Regions from separate parts of the Homo sapiens genome. Here region 1 is linked to region 2. Evidence: promoter capture Hi-C in 16 types of primary human blood cells and fetal thymus (Javierre and others, 2016). All regions are on one chromosome and are shown on one strand. The core of a region is centred on a gene start or on the middle of the fragment in contact, and the rest is flanking DNA. Distances in the headings are between cores, read along the strand shown. Region 1 overlaps ADAM15 (ADAM metallopeptidase domain 15). Region 2 holds the start of CHRNB2 (cholinergic receptor nicotinic beta 2 subunit).

Evidence for each region. Contacts are between HindIII fragments. The CHiCAGO score rates a contact against its expected background, and 5 or more counts as called.
Region 1: a contact is called between a fragment that was not itself captured here and the fragment with the promoter of CHRNB2 in region 2, in 14 of 17 cell types (naive B cells, total B cells, fetal thymus and 11 more). The highest score is 15.7, in naive B cells.

Annotation. Positions count from the first base shown.
Region 1 is chr1:155,058,627-155,062,376 of GRCh38, reverse strand. It overlaps ADAM15 (ADAM metallopeptidase domain 15), which reads right to left. Exons shown (of 23, transcript NM_207197.3): 16 at 3,590-3,667; 17 at 2,403-2,475; 18 at 2,034-2,172; 19 at 1,545-1,614; 20 at 888-962; 21 at 402-473; 22 at 8-132. All of the region lies in intron 1 of DCST1-AS1 (DCST1 antisense RNA 1), which reads left to right. It overlaps ADAM15-EFNA4 (ADAM15-EFNA4 readthrough), which reads right to left. Exons shown (of 26, transcript NR_176418.1): 16 at 3,590-3,667; 17 at 2,403-2,475; 18 at 2,034-2,172; 19 at 1,545-1,614; 20 at 8-132. Among named protein-coding and RNA genes, the nearest start is that of EFNA4, 3.2 kb to the left of the region's middle. The HindIII fragment of the contact is 4,923 bases long and covers 1-3,711 here.
Region 2 is chr1:154,565,654-154,569,803 of GRCh38, reverse strand. CHRNB2 (cholinergic receptor nicotinic beta 2 subunit) reads right to left here and starts at 2,026. Exons shown (of 6, transcript NM_000748.3): 1 at 1,696-2,026; 2 at 197-342; 3 at 1-12. The coding sequence starts at 1,759. It overlaps LOC107985206 (a long non-coding RNA gene), which reads left to right and starts at 2,087. Exons shown (of 2, transcript XR_001738238.3): 1 at 2,087-2,380; 2 at 3,622-4,150. RefSeq lists a silencer at 1,726-1,855. The HindIII fragment of the contact is 2,216 bases long and covers 277-2,492 here.

The DNA of each region.
Region 1 (3,750 bases), core at 1-2,500, 490 kb before region 2:
CTCCTACCTGGAGGGTACCACTAGGGGCGGGATTCCAGCCCCTGGGCCGGGCAGGTCACCCGATGGGCACCGGCCCTGGGGGTCGGCAGGCAGTGGCTTCCTTGGGGGTGGGGGCTTGGCTGGCCCCTGAGACTGAGGGAGAGAAGGCAGGAGGCCGGCTTAGGTGGGGGGGTGTCATGTTGCCCACCCCCAACGCACTGGTGCTGGGGAACACCAGCTTGGGGGCAGCACCAGCGGTCACCCTTGTCTGCAAACAAACCTGTCACCATTAAAGGCACCACCGGGATATGTGCCCTCATGCACTGAGGGGGCATCTCGCCACGGCCACCACCGTCATGGCTACCAGCACCACAGCCCTAGGTGGGGGGAGAGGCCGTGCCCTTCTCTCCCCCCACCGTTACCTTCGGGCTTCTCACCACCGGGTCAGCGGGCAGAGGGCGGGTAGGGGGATTGGGTCGGTCAGCCAGCTCAGCCTGAACAGAGAGAGGGGCAGTGGCTGTGAGAGCATAACCAGGGGCTGTGGACATGCACAGAGATTCCCCAGAGGGGTTCAAGTCAACATGCAAAGTCAGCCAGGGGGCAGGAGAGAATGAGGGCATGCGCAGAGGGCTTGGAGGCATGCCAGCTGATGTCTCAGGGGAGGAAGGTGTAGGTCAACCGCAGTCCCTGGCCGACTGCAGTCCCGCCATTGACCACCAGATGGTGGTAGAAACCAAGGCAGGAGGCTCACCCTTTGCTGCTTCTGGGGCTCAGAGTGTCTGAAGGCTGAGGGGCACCCCGATCACCTAATGAAGAGCACCACTGGCAGGGAGCAGGGATGAGAACTGCAGTTGGGTACCAAGCCTCCCACCTGCCTTGGCTCAGGGCGGGCCCTGGCCCAGATTTACCTGGAGTCTCTTGGACACAGGGTCAGGCGGCAGCGGCCTGGAAGGGGGGGCCGGGAAGCTGAGAGCACTAGCCTGCTGAGAGGGCAGGAGGGGCAGATAGGCACAGAGGGGGAAGAGGAAGCAGAGAGACAGAGTGGGCAGGGAAGGGTCAGTGCCCAGGGGGGGCCAGCAGGGGCCCAGGGCAGTGGGTGCTGTGCATGCAGTTATGCAGGTGCATGCAGGTGGGGAGCGAGTGGGGAGGAGGTGTGCACACACTCCCATCATCCAAGCAGAGGGCTCAGGGTGGGGATGCTCACCAGCCCTTCTAACATGGTGACCTGGGCCTACGGAAGGCCATTCTGAGCACCACTGCCCTTGTGCCCTCCTGGGGTCACTGCTGGGGGCATGGATAGATCCACCTCTCAAAGCCACCTCTTGGCCAGCGGACGGAGCCCAGCAGCTCCTGCTCCAGCTGGCTGCCCTCCCCACTCTTCTGGACTCAGCTTCCCTGCCTGTAGCCAGGGGAGGGGAGGGCAGGGCTGGCCCTGACTCCTTCGACTGACTCTTGGGCAGTGCTAGCCTTTCTCTGAGTCTGGAGCCTTTAATGCGCACCCCCCAGGGCCCAAGCTGGATGCCCGGCCAAGGTGGAGTCCCCTTCCTCTGGCATCCAGGACTCACCTTAGTGCCTCGTGCCAGCAGGGCCCTCTGCGGAGGTCCTGGCCGTTCAGAGGGACCAGATTGGGCTGCCCTATGCATGAGGAAAGGCAAGAAGGGAGAGGGCCCAGCCTCAGACCCTGTTTTCTACCATATGCCATCCCTGAGTGGGGTTAACCCTTTGCAGGCACTTATGTGTGGTTTAGGTAAAATTGTGGTAGGGCCGGGGTGGGGGGCAGTATTTATTAGCTTGAGGGAAGACCCTACTTATCCAGCACAGGGGCTCCTGGGGAGAAATGGCCCTAGCAATCCAGCCACCCCACAGGGGCACAGCTGTGAGGTAAAAAGCTGTGGGCACATATAGGGAAGGGAGGTGTGGGGTATGGCAGTCAGCAACTTTAAGGTCCAAGGGGCCTGGGGCTCAGAACCAGGTGGCAGGGGCTGCAGAGGTGAGGCAGCCTTCAGCACTGTCCCCAGTTGAAGGAAGTGGTAGCAGGGAGGTGATGCTCATACCTGTACTGGCAGGTGGGTCCCTTGAGCTGGCAGAGTCGCTGGTGCAGGCGGGCACGGTACCAGTAGCTGGCACCAAGCATCACCAGGACCAATAAGACCAGGAGGCTGAGGAGCAGCCCTGTGGTCAGGGAGCTGGTTGCTGTGGGCGGAAGTCAGGTTTAAGGGAGGACGGGGCTAAGAACTCTAGATCCATGAAGGCGCAGGGGGCAGGGAGTGAAGTCAAGTGATCAGGGAGAGTGAAGGGTTCAAGGGGCACAGACTCAGGGAACCAGCAGCAAAGGGGGGTCAGAAAGAGAGGGCCGAGGGGGCAAGATAAAGCATGAGACGCTTTGCCCTCCCAGCTGCCCCTGTCCCCCACCCCCATGCTACCTTTGAGCTGAGTGGTGCAGTCAGGGGGTGCCCAGCCCTCCTCACAGTAGCAGTGCCTGTTGCTGTCACAGACCTAGGAGGTACAAGGCGAGCAATGAGGAGCTCTGCACTCTGGAACTATTTCCTTGTCTCTAGCTTTTCAAGATCTCAGATTTCTACAACTGGGGGTTGTGCTGGGTATGTGTGTAGAGACAGCCCGGAGGGAGGGTCTTTATCCATACCAGAGCAAATTAGATCAAACTAACACTTACTGAGCTCCTTCTGTGTGCTGGGCACTGTGGTACATGCTTTCTTTCTTTGTGTTTGTTTTGTTTTGTTTTATTTTATTTTATTTTAGACAGCAAGTAAGATGGAGTCTCACTCTGTTGCCCAGGCTGGAGTGCAGTGGTGCAATTATGGCTCACTGCAGCCCCAAACTCCTGGGCTCAAGCAGTCCTCCTGCCTCAGCCTCCCAAGTAGCTGGGAGCATAGGTGTGCACCAGCAGGCCTGAATAATTTTTAAATTTTTCCTTGAAAGAGATGGGGGTCTCACTATGTTGACCAGGCTGGTTTTGAACTCCTGGCCTCAAGTAATCCTCCTGCCTTGGCCTCCCAAAGTACTGTGATTTGGCTGGGTGCAGTGGCTCACCCCTATAATCCCAGCACTTTGGGAGGCTGAGGCGGGAGGATCACTTGAGGTCAGAAGTTCAAGACTAGCCTGGCCAACATGGTGAAACCCATCTCTACTGAAAATACAAAAATTAGCTGGGCATGGTGGCGGGTGACTGTAATCCCAGCGAGTAGGGAGGCTGAGACATGAGTAATGTTTGAGCCTGGGAGGCAGAGGTTGCAGTGAGCCGAGATCACGCCAGCGCACTCCAGCCTAGGCAACAGAGCGAGACTCTGTCTCAAAACAAAACAAACAAACAAACAAAAAAACTGTGATTATAGGCATGAGCCATTGTGCCCAGCCTGTGCTAGATGCTTTCATACTCATCTCATGTACCCTGGATGGGGATACTATTATTATAGCCATTTGATAGGTGGGGAAACTGAGCTCAGCAAAGTTAGTAACCTGCCCGAGGTCACACAACTGGGAAGTAGTAGAGCAAGGATTAAAACCCAGATATGTCTATTTCCAAAGCCCAGTATCCTTTTCCTCTCTAGAGGCTCTCTGCTCCCCTTCCACTTCCCCCATCCCAGCTCACCCCATGTCCATGGCATTTGCTTCGACATTCCTGTGCCCCCAGGAGATCCACACGCTGGCATCGATGGTCTATACACACCTGACCCAGGGAGAGAAGAGCCTGGATCAGATTCCCACAAAGCTTTAATGGGACTGGGAGGCCAATAAGGTTGAGGCCATACC
Region 2 (4,150 bases), core at 777-3,276:
CTCCCGCTCATGCTGCAGGGAGGAAGAGAGGCTGCCGAGAAGGCCCCTAAGCCTGTGGGGTCACTGCCACCACCCAGGGTCCCTCTCACACCTCCCCAAGCCTTGGAAACACCAGGGGAGGAAGCACACAAGCATTAACACATTTTGGCGGGGCTGATTTCAGTAGCTGGGCAGAGAGCCTGGGACCTCTACTCACCACACTGATGAGCTGGGCCAGTGACACCATAAGCTGTACTGTCACCAGCTCAGAGCCATTGGTGGCTGGGCGGATAAGCTTGTTGTAGCGGGAAGGATCCAGGAGATGCTCCACCAGCCGCTCCTCTGTATCCGTACCCCACACCCCTGGGCAGGGGAAAGGCAGGACGAAAGTAAGCAGGCAAGGAGAGCCCACCCAGCATCCCACCCTCCCCAGGCAAATGGGACAATCCAGGCCCAACCAGTATCTCCCTACATCCCTAAGGATACTGCAAAATGCTTAGATTAACCCCAGGGAGGCCCCAGATTAATGTCTTCATAGAAAAGCCCCTCTCTGAGACCACTGACCAAAGAGTCTACACAGCTCCACAGAGATGACTTGAGACTAAGAACCCACTCTGCAAGGATTCATGGAGACCTGCTCTTCCCCCAAAGTCTCAGAGGGCAGTTTGAGATTTCTGCTTCCATGGCTTCCCCAGCAAATACCTATGACTCAAGGGAGGTTTAGCAGGGCAGTGAAGGTGAACAGTTATTTGTCCCAGTTATTTGTGTCCCACCACACACATCCTTTCTCCTGCCGATTGAGGAGAAAGTGTATGTGTGGTGGGACACAAATAACTGTTCCCGTTCACCATTTACATGTGCAAATGACATTATGTGCCTCACGTAATGACATGTGACTGTGGTCACGATGCCATCCTCCCCTCTCCCTAAAGGCACTGGGTTGGAGTGGAATAGCTGGGCTGCCTAAGCTGTGGGTCAGGCATATATGTAGCCCCAAGTTTCACACACACAGCAGCCCACCCCTAGAGGTGGCCTGTAGGTGTGGAAAGCTCATTCAGTTGTGCATTCCCTTTGTACCTGCCCCTCCCCGGCACACTGCATCCCCCTCTGCAACTCTGCACGAACACACCCCTCCCCATCCCCTCAGAGAGTTCCTTCCTAGTCCTCAGCCTGGCAGAGCTTCTTCCCTTCCAAGCCTCCTGTCCCACCCTACAGGAGGGTTGAAAAGTCCGTTCCGTTTTCTCCCCTTCTCTGCCCCTGAGGGGTGACGAGAATCTGGAGCCCAATGTGGGGGATGGGAAACGATGGGGAGCCCGGGGAGGGGTGCTGGTCCAGGTACCTTTCTTGAGATAATGTTTCACAAAAAGTCAGATGGCATCTTAGCGCCCTCAGAGCCGGCCTCCTGCCACCCCAGGACGCCTGGGGAGATCCCCTGCCTCCTTGCTCTCTGTGCCTGCACCACCCCTACCACCGCTGGCCAGGTTTCCATCTCTTTCTTGCTTCACTTACTCCTTCGAGTATGTCTCGTTCCCAGTCCAGCCTCCCAGGTGCTCTCTGCAGTCCCGGGGGGCTCTCCCCTAACCTCCAGCAGACTCCCCCACCTCTAGGGAATCCCTTCTTCCACCTTCCGGCCTAGCAGGGGTGAGTCAGAGGGCGGCGAGTCTTGGGCCGTTGGCTGGGGTAGGAGAACCTGGCCAGTGCCCGTCTTTCCCTTACCTGAGCACAGCCGGAGGAGGCCGAAGCCAAGGAGCAGCGCCACGGGGCCGCAGCGCCGGGCCATGCCGCGGGCATAGCTCGCTGCCTCGCCTACACCGGCTGGAGCGCGCCGCCGGGGGGAGGGCCGCGGGTGGGGCGCTGTCCGTGGTGCTGAAGCCGCGCCCGCCTGGAGCTGGGTCCAGGTGGTGCCGGCCGCCGCGGTGGTTCCTGGGCCTCAGGGAGCCGGCTGCGAGGAGAAACCAGCTTCTTGCCTATCCTGGTATGAGCAGGCGGAGGCTTTTCCGGCTGCTCTTCCAGGGAATACAATTGGGACGGTGAGGGGGAGGAGTCTGCGCCCCGGAGGCGGAAACGCTGGGTCCCAGGAAAAAAAAGGGGGGTCCCCGGCTGGGATAGTCTTCGATTGGTTCTGCCGTGGTAGGGTGTGCGTGAGGTGGAAGAAGGGCTGTTCCTCCACGGCACGGTGGAGGAGTTCTGAAGTCCTAAAGTTGGGGCAGGACCTGCAGCATGGTCGGAGAAGGGGCAAGAGGCCCGGCGGGAAGAAGCAGCAAGAGTAAGACAAGTAGGTCAGGGCCTGCTTAGTACTGAGGGCCAGACGGCCAGAACGAGCGTCGGGAGACAGGAGGAGTGTCCGGGGTTTTCGCCCTCCTTTTTTCTCTTACCAAACCCAAATGGTCCTGCTCCCCAGGTAGGCTGAGGATACAGCAGAGAAAATGTGTTTAGCCCCTTAAAGAGATAGGGGGCTGTGGGTTTGCTATTTTTAAGAAAGCAAACGGCTTTGGAGTCTAAAAGGCTAAGCTTCCTGCCCTCCCACTGAGGGTCTACCTGAGGAGGTCTAGACTTGCCTGCAAAGAAGGTAGACTTGAGGGTAATAGTGGAAAGACAAGTAGCCCCTATTCATCGGCCTTCCTCACCCCCTTCTCTTGACTCCAGCTGTTGGCTTCTGTGTGACTAGGGAGATCAGAGACCACTCACAGAGGCCTGATCAAGAGAGAAGCTAACACAAAGGAGACCAAAGATGAGAACCCTGAACTCTTAGCCCCTTTTTTTCCTTCAGTGGGTTCGTTGTCACTTTCAACCAAAAGATTCCTGACTAAAGCAGACTTAGCATACAGCAAGGCTCTGTCCTGTTTTGTCCCTGCTTACTTCAACCTCATCTGGGTCACTCCACCCCCAGCTCCACATTCCAACTATTGGCAAGGTCTTCAGGATCCTTGAACATCTTATCCGTCCCATCATCCCCCACACTTCAGGGACTTAAATGCATGGTTCTCTTGGGCTCTTTTATAACCCATGTTCCCCTCATCACCTTCTACTTAACTTTGAGCATTTGGCAGGAATGTCAATTCCTTAAGGAAGCTGCGCCTGACCAAGAACTAGATCAGATACTTTGTTATATGTTTCCAGAGCATGTCCAATGAATAAATGAATCCACCTGAGGCAGTGGCTGCCTCTCTAGATTATGAATCAACACAGTGCCTGGCATATTATTATAAGGGCTCAACAGGTAAGGAAAAGGGCTAGTACTGGACTGACACTTTTTAATGTGTAGGGAAAATTTCTCTCTAAAAGCTCAGCTAGGGACCAGGAGAGGTGACTTAAGCCCGTAATCTCAGCACTTTCAAAGGCTGAGGCAGAAGGATCACTTGAGCCCAGGCGTTTGAAACCAGCCTGGGCAACATAATGAGATCACGTGTGTACAAAAAGTTTAAAAATTAGTCGGGCATGATGGTGTGTGCCTATAGTCCCAGCTACTCGAGAGGCTGAGGTGGGAGGATCACTTAAGCCAGGGAGGTCGGGGCTGCAGTTTGGGGCATGATGGCGCAACTGCACTCCAGCCTGGGCAATGAAGCAAGACCCCATTTCAAAAACTAAACAAATAAATAAATAAAAGCCCAGCTAAAAGCAACTTATTGACCATGTCCCCAGGTCGTGGAATTAAGGGAAGAAGCAGAAAAGTTCTAGAAGAGGACTGGAGAAGTAGAAGGACTACAGACCCCATGATGCACATGGAAATGGGCGTAAATCTGCACGACTTGTTCCGGGGCATGCGCATGTGTAAGCGCACAATAATCTCTTAAGAATTAAAGAAACCTTGTAACAAAGAAAAGTAGTGAAGAAAAGCCTTAAGGAAAAGAGAAGGAATGTGTGTAGTCCCTCTGCTTAAGGAAAAGATAGAGGGTGGGAAGATCTTCCTTCAACAATTTAGATCAACATTTGTTAGGTATATGTGGTTTGCCAGGAAACTGCATGTGTGTTGTGGACCATATGTGTTGAAGATGCAGTGATCAAAAAGACTTAGTCCCAGCTATTAAGGAGATCACAGTTTGGCAGCAAATTATTATAGAATGTGATGGCTGTTCTAACAGACATATAAAGGAAGTGCTATGGATGGAAGCACAGAGGAAGAAGAGGTTAATAGTGTCTAAGAACCTAGAAGGGATGAAGATGAAAATTG